2 separate regions of the Homo sapiens genome follow, and region 1 is linked to region 2. Evidence: promoter capture Hi-C in human tissues and cell types (Jung and others, 2019). All regions are on one chromosome and are shown on one strand. Each heading gives the region's core, a stretch centred on a gene start or on the middle of the fragment in contact. The rest is flanking DNA. Distances are from core to core; before and after follow the strand shown.

Region 1 (4,808 bases), core at 1,404-3,903, 140 kb before region 2:
CGGCGCCGGGCGAGAAGTCGTCACGCGGACCGTACCACGCGGAGCGGCACCCCACACACGCGAGGGCAGGGCCGAGCCATGGGCGCTTCTCACCCCTCCCGCCTCGTGGCCGCTCTCTCTGGCGTCGATGTTCCCAGTTAGGTAGCTGAGCGACGCGGAAGTGAGGCCGGGGACGCGCGCGAGGTGACATGCGCAGCCTCGCTCAGGGACCACAGGGGCGCGCCAAAGGCGGCCCTGCGCAAGGCCCGGCCTGGCGAGGGCGTGCGAAGCTCTCTCAGCGGAACGTTTCTCACGCCGTTCAAATACACAAGAGCTTCAAACTCTCGAAAAACTCCAATCGGGCCAGTACTAAGCGATGCCCTCCACCCAGGCCCGAGAGTTACCGTGCGGGGCGTGGCCGGCCTCACCCGGAGTCCTTCACATCCCGCTGGGGGCGGGTTATTCTGTTCGGTTCGCACACCGTGTGTCCGCTCCAGCTGAAGAGCCTGCGCGCGCGCACCGGACGTCCACGTCACCGCGCACGCGCTCCTACCCGCTCGGAGCCCGCCGCGCAGGCGCAAAAGGAGACGCGAGCAGCACCTCCCTGACCCCTCCCCCAACACCAGGAGTCCAAACGGCCCCAGAGCAGCAGCAAGACCCTTGGGACCCGCCCCCCGAGTGGAAGCCGCTGCTTTTCCGGGTCCCTGCAACCCAGAAAAGCCTACTGAAGGTTCTAGAACCAAGAAAGGCGAGGCAGGAGGGAGGCACCTAAACTCCTCAGGCTTGCACACGAAGCCTTCGTGGAAACTGTGAAACCAATGCCCGGCGGGCCTTTCTCAACTGTGCCTTTCACCCTTTCCCTAGGGCTCCTCGCCGGCTCCGCCCCGGCCGCGCCCAGCCCCACCCACACGGGGCTCCGCAGACCCCCAACCTCCACAAGCCCGTCAAATGAATCTGAGGTCTTCCACCCCGGAGTACCGGGGCTTGGACAGCTCCAGAGCATTGGGAAACCTTGAAGCCAAAGACCTTGAGAGACGGATGGTCGAGTTTACAACATCCACAACCGAAGACGACTAGGAAAATGGGGAGGAGACCGAAAGACTCAGTGCGCAGTTGGAAAGCGAAGAGTTGCCACTAAATTGCCGGATATAAAGATGAAAGATATCTTGATAAAACAGGGAAACGATGCAGGAGTGTGTTATCTAAGCTTTAGTGCCTTGATCCTGTGCATTCAATTTTTGTTTCTTCAAGACATTTAAGCTATGAGGTGCAAAGAAAGTATTAGTGAATATCTATTATGTGTCAGGCAGTTGCTGAAGTAAATCAATGGACAGTATTTCTCCTAACCTTCAAAAAGTAGTTTTCTTTCTCCTTCTCTACTCCTTACCAGCTGTTCTTTCTTCTGTGCTCCTGACACCAGTAAAAAGGAAGCGTAGTTTCTTAAAAGGCAAAAAAGAAGTAGGGAGTAGGAGAGCAGATTTTGTGGTCAATGATCCAAAACTGCCTTCTTTGATAAGAATTAGCAAGCACTGAGAACCTACTACGTGACATGCTATGTGACAATACAAAACACTATGAAGGAGAATGAGAAGACTAAGGAAGGAGTCAACAGAAGGAGGCTTATCCAACACTACTGATCTGACCTACTTTTTACTTAGGAAGGTCATATTTCTCTACACTTTGCTCTTCCTGAGGAGATATACAACAACATTGACAGAAACTGCTGGAATAGTCTGAACTAGAAAACGTGTAGGCTACTTTAGAGACTTCTGAAGGCATTCTGAAACCCCAAGTCAGGCACGGTCAGCAAGAGCATTCAAGATCCTAGGCAAAATTGAAAAGTAACAGTTTAACACCTTCCTCCTCTTCCCTGAACCCAAGAACTTCTTTCCTACAAGCTGCCCTGTCAGAATCTCCCACCTTACCAAGAATGCCTTCCTCTCAAGGATCTGAGGTTTCCTCATAAAAATTTTCCATTTTCTGGGGAAGAAGTAAATTTATGTTGATTTAGCATTAAAATATATGATCATAAGGTGTGAATGACTGGTTAACAACCATGCATCCCCAAAGAGACAAGTTAACCCAAATGATCTCTCTAACTGGGGGATCTGTGAGGACAACTTGGGAAGAAGGGGAATGGAGATTCTCTTTTGGTACTCCTTCCCTACACCAGGCAAACATATAACTAAATACTAGATACTTTAAAAAAACAAAACAAAAAAAAAACGCTGAACTTTGAAGATTCAGTACTACAGATCTCGGTGGGAGAGGAAAACTATCCATAGTTTTTCAAAGTGGAGTCCGCCTAACCTAGAGAGGTCGGGAGATGTCAAGAATCTGAGGGTCCTATGAGAACTTTTAAGTGTTTTTAGATGATATTCTAAAAATAATCATACCACCACACACATTTCAGGGATCCAGTTTGGATTTACCATCATGCAGGTACCAAGTAACCGCTTGTTTTTCTTTTTTATTTTTTGTTTGCTTTGAGTAACCACTTAAATGGTTACATTCAACTTTTAATGCAGCATTCTCATACTAAAGTTCTTGGTTGTATACTTTGGATAATGTAAGAAATTTCCTCCTTTAAAAGGCATCCATATATAACCGAAGGTTTAAGAATGCCAAGCTAACTGCTAAAGTGATGCTCCTAAGTTCCACCTTTTTCAGTTATCATAGCTCAACTTATTGGTCCAGCCTAACACAAAAGTCTTTGCCTTGATTTTCCTAGACTGCACGTTCAAGTAGATTTTTCTGAATATTAAGGGGAAACAAACAAAAAACTAGAGAGAATGCATGCAATTAAACAGTCTGGCCTAGAATGTACACAGTTTTGATCCTAGATTGTTCTATAAACACATAGGCACTATCTCATTTACATGCACACTTTTCCTATTCAGCAAATATCTGAGTGCCTACTATATGCTGAGGATAGGGGAAAGGCTGGCACCCCATGCACTTTTCAGATGTCTACAGCAGAACCCCAAAGATTGGCACAACTTAAGTAACAGAATCCACCAAGACAAACTTCCTCATCCAATCTATTCAGATCCAATCCTTTCGGTTCTGATTTCTAAAACATCCTCTGTCAACTGACAAAAAGACCTCACTCTTCAGATGAAACCACTACCATGAACAAACTCCTGGACTATGGCCTTGTTTAAAATATCAATATAATAAAGAACATTCATAAAATAAGGGCTACATACAGACTGAGTTGCAAAAGATGCTTGTTTTTTTTTTTGTTTTGTTTTGTTTTTACAAAAAGTCCTTCGGCCAGGTGCGGTGGCTCAGTCCTGTAATCCTAGCACTTTGGGAGTCCGAGGCAGGCAGATTGCCTAAGGTCAGGGGTTCAAGACCAGTCTGGCCAACATGGTGAAACCCCGTCTCTACTAAAAATATAAAAAAATTAGCCGGGCATGGTGGCGTGCGCCCATAATCCCAGCCACACGGGAGGCTAAGGCAAGGGAATTGCTTGAACAAGGGAGGTGGAGGTTGCAGTGAGCCGAGATCGCGCCACCGCACTCCAGCCTGAACGACAGAGCAAGACTCCATCTCAAAAAAAAAAAAAAAAAAAAAAAAAAAAAAAAGGGCCTTCACTAGCCAACCTGAAAATTCAGGTCCTAGGCAGAGGGTAAAAAGAGAATCATAGACAACTCCATCCTTGCCCACCATTTAGTACTACAACTGAAATCAAGTCATGCTGGGGGGCAAAGTATGATTGCCACCAATATCTGTAATGAAGGAATTAAGGAATTAAAAATTAACGATTTAAGGAATTAAAAATGGCAAGATATCTGCCTTCAAGGAGCTAATAATGTACCCAAAGAGGAACTTTTAAGACTTTCTGGGCTGGGCGCAGTGGTTCACGCCTGTAATCCCAGCACTTTGGGAGGCAGAGGCAGAAGGCAGGTGGATCGCATGAACCCAGGAGTTCAAAACCAGCCTGGACAACATAGTGAGAACCCATCTCTGCAAAATATTAAAAAATTAGCCAAGTGTGGTGGTGCCTGCAGTCCCAGCTACTCAGGAGGCTGAAGTGAGAGAAATGCTTGACCACAGGAGGTCGAGGCTACAGTGAGCTGTGATTGTGCCACTGCACTCCAGTCTGGGCAACAGTGAGACCTACCCCCCAACCCTGTCTCTTAAAGAAAGAAAAGAGTTTCTTAATCAGCATAGTAATATTAAAAGCATGTTTTAGAAAATGTTAAGAGAAGGGAGGATGAAAAGAAGGACAGAAATGTTACGGAATATAATCAACATTCATTAAGAAACACCCACTGGCTCATGCCTGTAATCCCAGAACTTTGGGAGGCTGAGGTGGGACGGACTGTTTGAGCTCAGGAGTTTGAGAGCAGCCTGGGCAACATGGCAAGACCCTGTCTCTACCAAAAATAAAATAAAAATAAAAATAAAAATAAATAGCTGGGCCTGGTGGTGTGCATCTGCGGTCCCAGCCACTCAGGAGGGTGAGGTGGGAGGACTGTTTAAGCCCAGGGGGCAGAGGTTGCAGTGAGTCAAGATCATGCCACTGCACTCCAGCCTGGGTGTGAGAGAGAGAGAGAGAGAGAGAGAGAGAGAGAGAAGAGAGGAGAGGGAGAGAGAGAAAGAAACACCATTCCTCCTTGCTGCCCCACATCTCAAGCCCACATAACCACGTTCCTCACCCTTGCCTAAGAAGATTGCCCCAGATGCCTCCAGCCTAACTCTATTCACCCTTCATACTTAAGTTTAAATGTATTTTCTTTAAGACGCTTGCCCTAACCCTCATGATCAGGTAAGGTCTTCCAGTTATATGCTCTCATAGTACCCTGTATTTCTTTATGGCA
Region 2 (4,818 bases), core at 64-2,563:
CAAAGTGCTGGGATTACAGGTGTAAGCCACCACGCCTGGCTGAGACCAGACTTTTTACAAAATCACTGTTCTGTTTACACCTTGAATTATACTCAGACTTTACCAAGTAGCTAACTACTATAACTTCTCTTTTGAAGTATTTTGTATTAAACATAGGTCTCAGACTTTCAAGTTAGGATTTTTTTTTTTTTTTTTTTTTTGAGATGGGGCTTTGCTCTTGTTGCCCAGGCTGGAGTGCAATGGTGCGATCTCGTCTCTGCAACCTCTGCCTCCCAGGTTCAAGCCATTCTCCTGCCTCAGCCTCCAGAGTAGCTGGGATTACAGGCGTGCGCTACCACGTGTGTCTGATTTTGTATTTTTAGTAGAGACGGGATTTTGCCATGATGGTCTAGCTAGTCTCGAACTCCTGACCTCAGGTGATCTGCCCGCCTCAGCCTCCCAAAGTGCTAGGATTACAGGCATGAACCACCGCACCCGGCAAATGATCATTTAAGCAAATGATCGAAGACTCAAGACACAAAACTACCTGAAGGGAGTGGCTCCCACATTTGTAGGGTACCTTACAGAGCAATTTCCCTTCATATGATTTTGCAGGTGGTGGGGAAACTCTCAGGGCAGTTGTGGCCTGTGCTACATCACCCATTGACCAGAGGTGCCAGTACTAGTGCTCAAGATCAATCGATCGATCGGTCTACCTACCTATCATCTATTGACCTTCAGTGCTACTAAAAACACTCGGATCTTCTAACGTCTGGTCCAGTCTTTCACCCCATCACAGTGAGAGGCTGTGCACAGGGGTAACACAGGCAACGGAATTATATGAGGCAAACACAGAGATCCAGGTTTCTGGGAGTAGCAATGAGGTTCAGCCTTGCAGTCACAAAGGCACCACTAAAAGGCACAAGTAATGGCAGGTAATGAGGCCTTACTTGGAGCAGTTTAGAGTACTTCCCACGTGTGGTGACGCATGCCACACACTCACCACCACCACCACTGCCACAAATGAAGTGCACACTCCACTGCTCCTGTCCTCAGGAACCTGGAAGCCCCCACCTGGTGTCCGAGGTGTGGCTCCCACTTTAAGCGTGGGGCACCTCCTCTCCGGCCTCAAACCTACCGGAGCTCCCAGCAGGCTGCGGCACATCTGACGGCTGGAAACTAGAACCCCTGGGTGGGGACTCCTTAAGGCTCCTCCCGGAAGCGTAGGGACCTCGCTGCCCACACGCCCCTCCCTTTCCTCCTCTGGCGTCCTGGGGTCTGAGGTGGGCGTGGCCAGACCAGCTTTAGGTCCGGGGAGTGTCTCGCCAGCGGCAGCACACCCCTGTAAGTGGTGGCCAGGGCTGCCGTGGCAAAATGAGCTGTCAACTTTAGGTTGACAGGGGTGTGGCCGCGACCGCAAGGGCTTTTGTTGCCGGGTGGACCCAACAGGGATGGGCTGCTGGGGACAGCTGCTGGTGTGGTTCGGAGCCGCGGGTAAGTGCTATCTGGCGGTCAGGGGACCGTCCAGCCTGAGGCACTTTCCTAGGCTTGGGGGTGGCCGGTCAACAGGCCAGGTGTCAGTGGTTCCTCCAGAGGCCTCGAACTCTCACAGCCAAATTTCTCCGGTCCGTGCTTCTGGAGTGCGGGCCGAGAAGCGCCAAGTGCGTGCGAATCCCAGAGTCTGGATCACGCAGCTTGGGAAGGAGGAACATTCTTTGGGGTCTCAGCACCGCCTTGGGGCGGGGCCACCAATCTAAGTTGAGGAAAGCATTGGGGAGGCTGCAGGACCAAATTCATTGCGGCCCCTAAGTTATTCACTGGGAAAGGCGCTCGAGGAGAGAAACTGGCAGACCTATCAGCGCGCACCCGCGGGGCTTCTGCGACCGGAGTCGGGTAGTGGCTTCCAGGCTGAGAGCGCGGCTGGGCCGGGTGACGGGTGTGGCCGCGACCGCAAGGGCAGCTGTTGCGGGGTTCTCTCTTTCTTTCATATCCTATTTCCACCCGCCTTAACGTCCTGCGCCTTCTCCCAACACCTTTCAGGCGCCATTCTCTGCTCTAGCCCGGGGTCCCAGGAGACTTTTCTGCGGTCCTCGCCCCTGCCGCTGGCAAGTCCCAGCCCCCGGGACCCGAAAGTCAGCGCCCCGCCTAGTATCTTGGAGCCAGCCTCCCCGCTGAATTCTCCGGGTGAGCTTTAGACGCCTCCTTCCTCTTTCGCTCACCATACCAGACCCCTCTGGCCCAGCCAGGGGCTCGACGACCCTTGCCTCGCTCCTTGCTCTCAGGCACCGAGGGGTCTTGGCTGTTTTCTACCTGCGGGGCCAGCGGCCGGCATGGGCCCACACAGACACAATGTGACGGGGCGTACGCGGGGACCAGCGTGGTGGTGACCGTGGGGGCCGCCGGGCAGCTGAGAGGCGTGCAGCTGTGGCGCGTGCCGGGCCCTGGCCAGTATCTGTAAGTGCACGGCGGAGGTAGGGTGGACAGTGACCTGCTAGTTGGAGGTTTCACCCTCAGGGTAACGAAGTCCACGTGCGCACCGACTTGCGTCTTGGACTATTCCGCGGGGAGGTCCACCTTGAGTGCCCTTCAAGGTGGCAGTAGTCGCCACCGAGTTAGCCCTTACCCGGAACCTCTTACACCGAGCGGAAGGCCCCCAACCAGGGCGGCGCCAAGGGGTGCTTGAGCCTCCCCACATTTCCACGAACCCTCCTGAAATAAGTGTAATATCTGATTTTTCGGTGTGCAAACCTACCCTTCCCATCCCGTCAGAGTCGATTGCAGCCTCCAAGTCCCTCAGATAAAAAATAATTCTGGAGCCTCCTCTGTCGCCAACTTCTGCCCGGAGCGGCCGGCCTGAGCACCGAAGGCCGGGGACTCACCGTCCGTTCCCCGCAGGATCTCAGCCTACGGAGCCGCGGGCGGCAAAGGCGCCAAGAACCACCTGTCGCGGGCGCATGGCGTCTTCGTCTCAGCAATCTTCTCCCTCGGTCTCGGGGAGTCGCTGTACATCCTGGTGGGGCAGCAGGGAGAGGACGCCTGTCCCGGAGTGAGCGCAGCCAGTGGGGATGGGGCGGCGCCGGCGCCGGGGGCGAGGGCTGCCTGGGGGCCGGGGGAGCGTGCTTTCCTCGGTGCCGGGTCACCAGCACAGCGAGGGGAGGCTCCCGGGCCCCGCCGATTCCCTCCCCCGCTGCCCGCAGGGTAGCCCGGAGAGCCAGCTCGTCTGCCTCGGGGAGTCTCGAGCCGTTGAAGAGCACGCGGCGATGGATGGGAGCGAAGGGGTCCCGGGGTCGCGGCGCTGGGCGGGAGGTGGCGGGGGTGGCGGGGGCGCCACCTACGTTTTCCGGGTACGTGCTCCCTTCGGCGCTCAGCGTTGGGGTCCCAATCCTCTCCCCAGGGGCGCTCACGCACCGGCTCTCCGTCCGTCCCTTGGGGTCCCCCTATCCCTGCGCTGGGCTGGGCTGGCCTGGGCTGGGCTGGGGGCCCCTGCCCTTATCCAGGCCCCCTGGGCGGGAGCCCTCTCCCAGTGGCAGTGCCCCTGGACAGCTGGAGGGCGCTTCCTGGAACACGCCGCTGGCCCCACAGGTGCGCGCTGGCGAGCTGGAACCGTTGCTGGTGGCGGCCGGAGGCGGCGGTCGGGCCTACCTGAGGCCGCGGGACCGAGGCCGGACTCAGGCCTCCCCCGAGAAACTGGAGAACCGCTCGGAGGCGCCCGGGAGCGGCGGGAGAGGCGGGGCGGCAGGTGAGGGCGCGGGCCGCGGGGAGAGGCGGGCGTGCTCCCCGTGTGGCTGCCAACCTTCCTGCTGTCGCTCTGCAGGTGGTGGGGGCGGCTGGACGTCGCGGGCTCCCTCTCCGCAGGCCGGCCGCTCACTGCAGGAGGGGGCGGAGGGCGGCCAGGGCTGCTCCGAGGCTTGGGCGACCCTTGGCTGGGCCGCGGCCGGCGGCTTCGGGGGCGGCGGCGGGGCCTGCACTGCGGGCGGAGGCGGCGGCGGCTACAGGGGTAGGTGCACCGTTGGAGAGGGCAGCTGAGCAGGCCCGAGGGTGAGGTGATGTTAGAACCTAAGTACAGGCCGGAGCCCTCGGGAGGATAGGTGTGGGAGAGGCATTAAGCCCTGCTCAGCAGCTCCAAACAAAAAGCAGGAGCTCTTAGAAAAGGAGGTCAAATACACTGCAAATCAGCATGCAGACAGGACTCCCTAGATTTCCGTTTAATCCAGGATCTTTCCCATCACAGCAGGTCCCTGCCTTGTTCTGCAGCAGTCTTCAGAACTTAGAGCTGGCCGAGTGAGCAAGCTGAGCAAAGGGGCAGAAAGGCAGGATTGGGTTAAGTCAGTGGTTCTCAAAGTGTGGTCCAGGAACAGGTAATATCCCCACAACCTAAGTTGTTCGAAATGCACATTATCAGCTGGGCCTGGTGGCTCACGCCTGTAATTCTAGCACTCTGGGAGGCCAAGGCAGGTGGATCACCTGAGGTCACCAGTTCGAGACCAGTCTGGCCAACCTGTGAAACCCTGTCTGTACTAAAAATACAAAAATTAGCCGGGCGTGGTGGCGGGAGCCTGTAATCCCAGCTACTCTGGAGGCTGAGGCAGGAGAATTGCTTGAACCTGGGAGGCGGAGGTTGCAGTGAGCCGAGATCACTCCATTGCACTTCAGCCTGGGCGACAAGAGGGAAATTCTGTCTCAAAGATTAAAAAAAAAACAATGGAAATTATCCTGGGAGTTGGGGGAAGGTTGGGGAGATGCTGGTCAAAACAATGCAAAATGGCAGTTAAATAGGAGGAATACCTTCCAGAATCTACTGTACTACATGGTGACTGTAGTTAATGACGATGTATTCTT

The links. The method cuts DNA at HindIII sites, captures the fragments that hold promoters and counts their contacts. A contact is called where the count stands out against the background at its distance.
Region 1: a fragment that was not itself captured here is called in contact with the fragment with the promoter of LTK in region 2 in 1 of the 25 tissues and cell types used here (IMR-90 fibroblasts).

The regions. Positions count from the first base shown.
Region 1 is chr15:41,656,101-41,660,908 of GRCh38, reverse strand. It overlaps MGA (MAX dimerization protein MGA), which reads right to left and starts at 504. Exons shown (of 24, transcript NM_001400225.1): 1 at 384-504. The HindIII fragment of the contact is 6,605 bases long and covers 1-4,808 here.
Region 2 is chr15:41,510,322-41,515,139 of GRCh38, reverse strand. It overlaps LTK (leukocyte receptor tyrosine kinase), which reads left to right and starts at 1,313. Exons shown (of 20, transcript NM_002344.6): 1 at 1,313-1,473; 2 at 2,020-2,163; 3 at 2,262-2,433; 4 at 2,875-3,025; 5 at 3,177-3,323; 6 at 3,562-3,718; 7 at 3,794-3,976. The coding sequence starts at 1,431. RefSeq lists a silencer at 1,948-2,027 and an enhancer at 1,734-2,481. The HindIII fragment of the contact is 13,334 bases long and covers 1-4,818 here.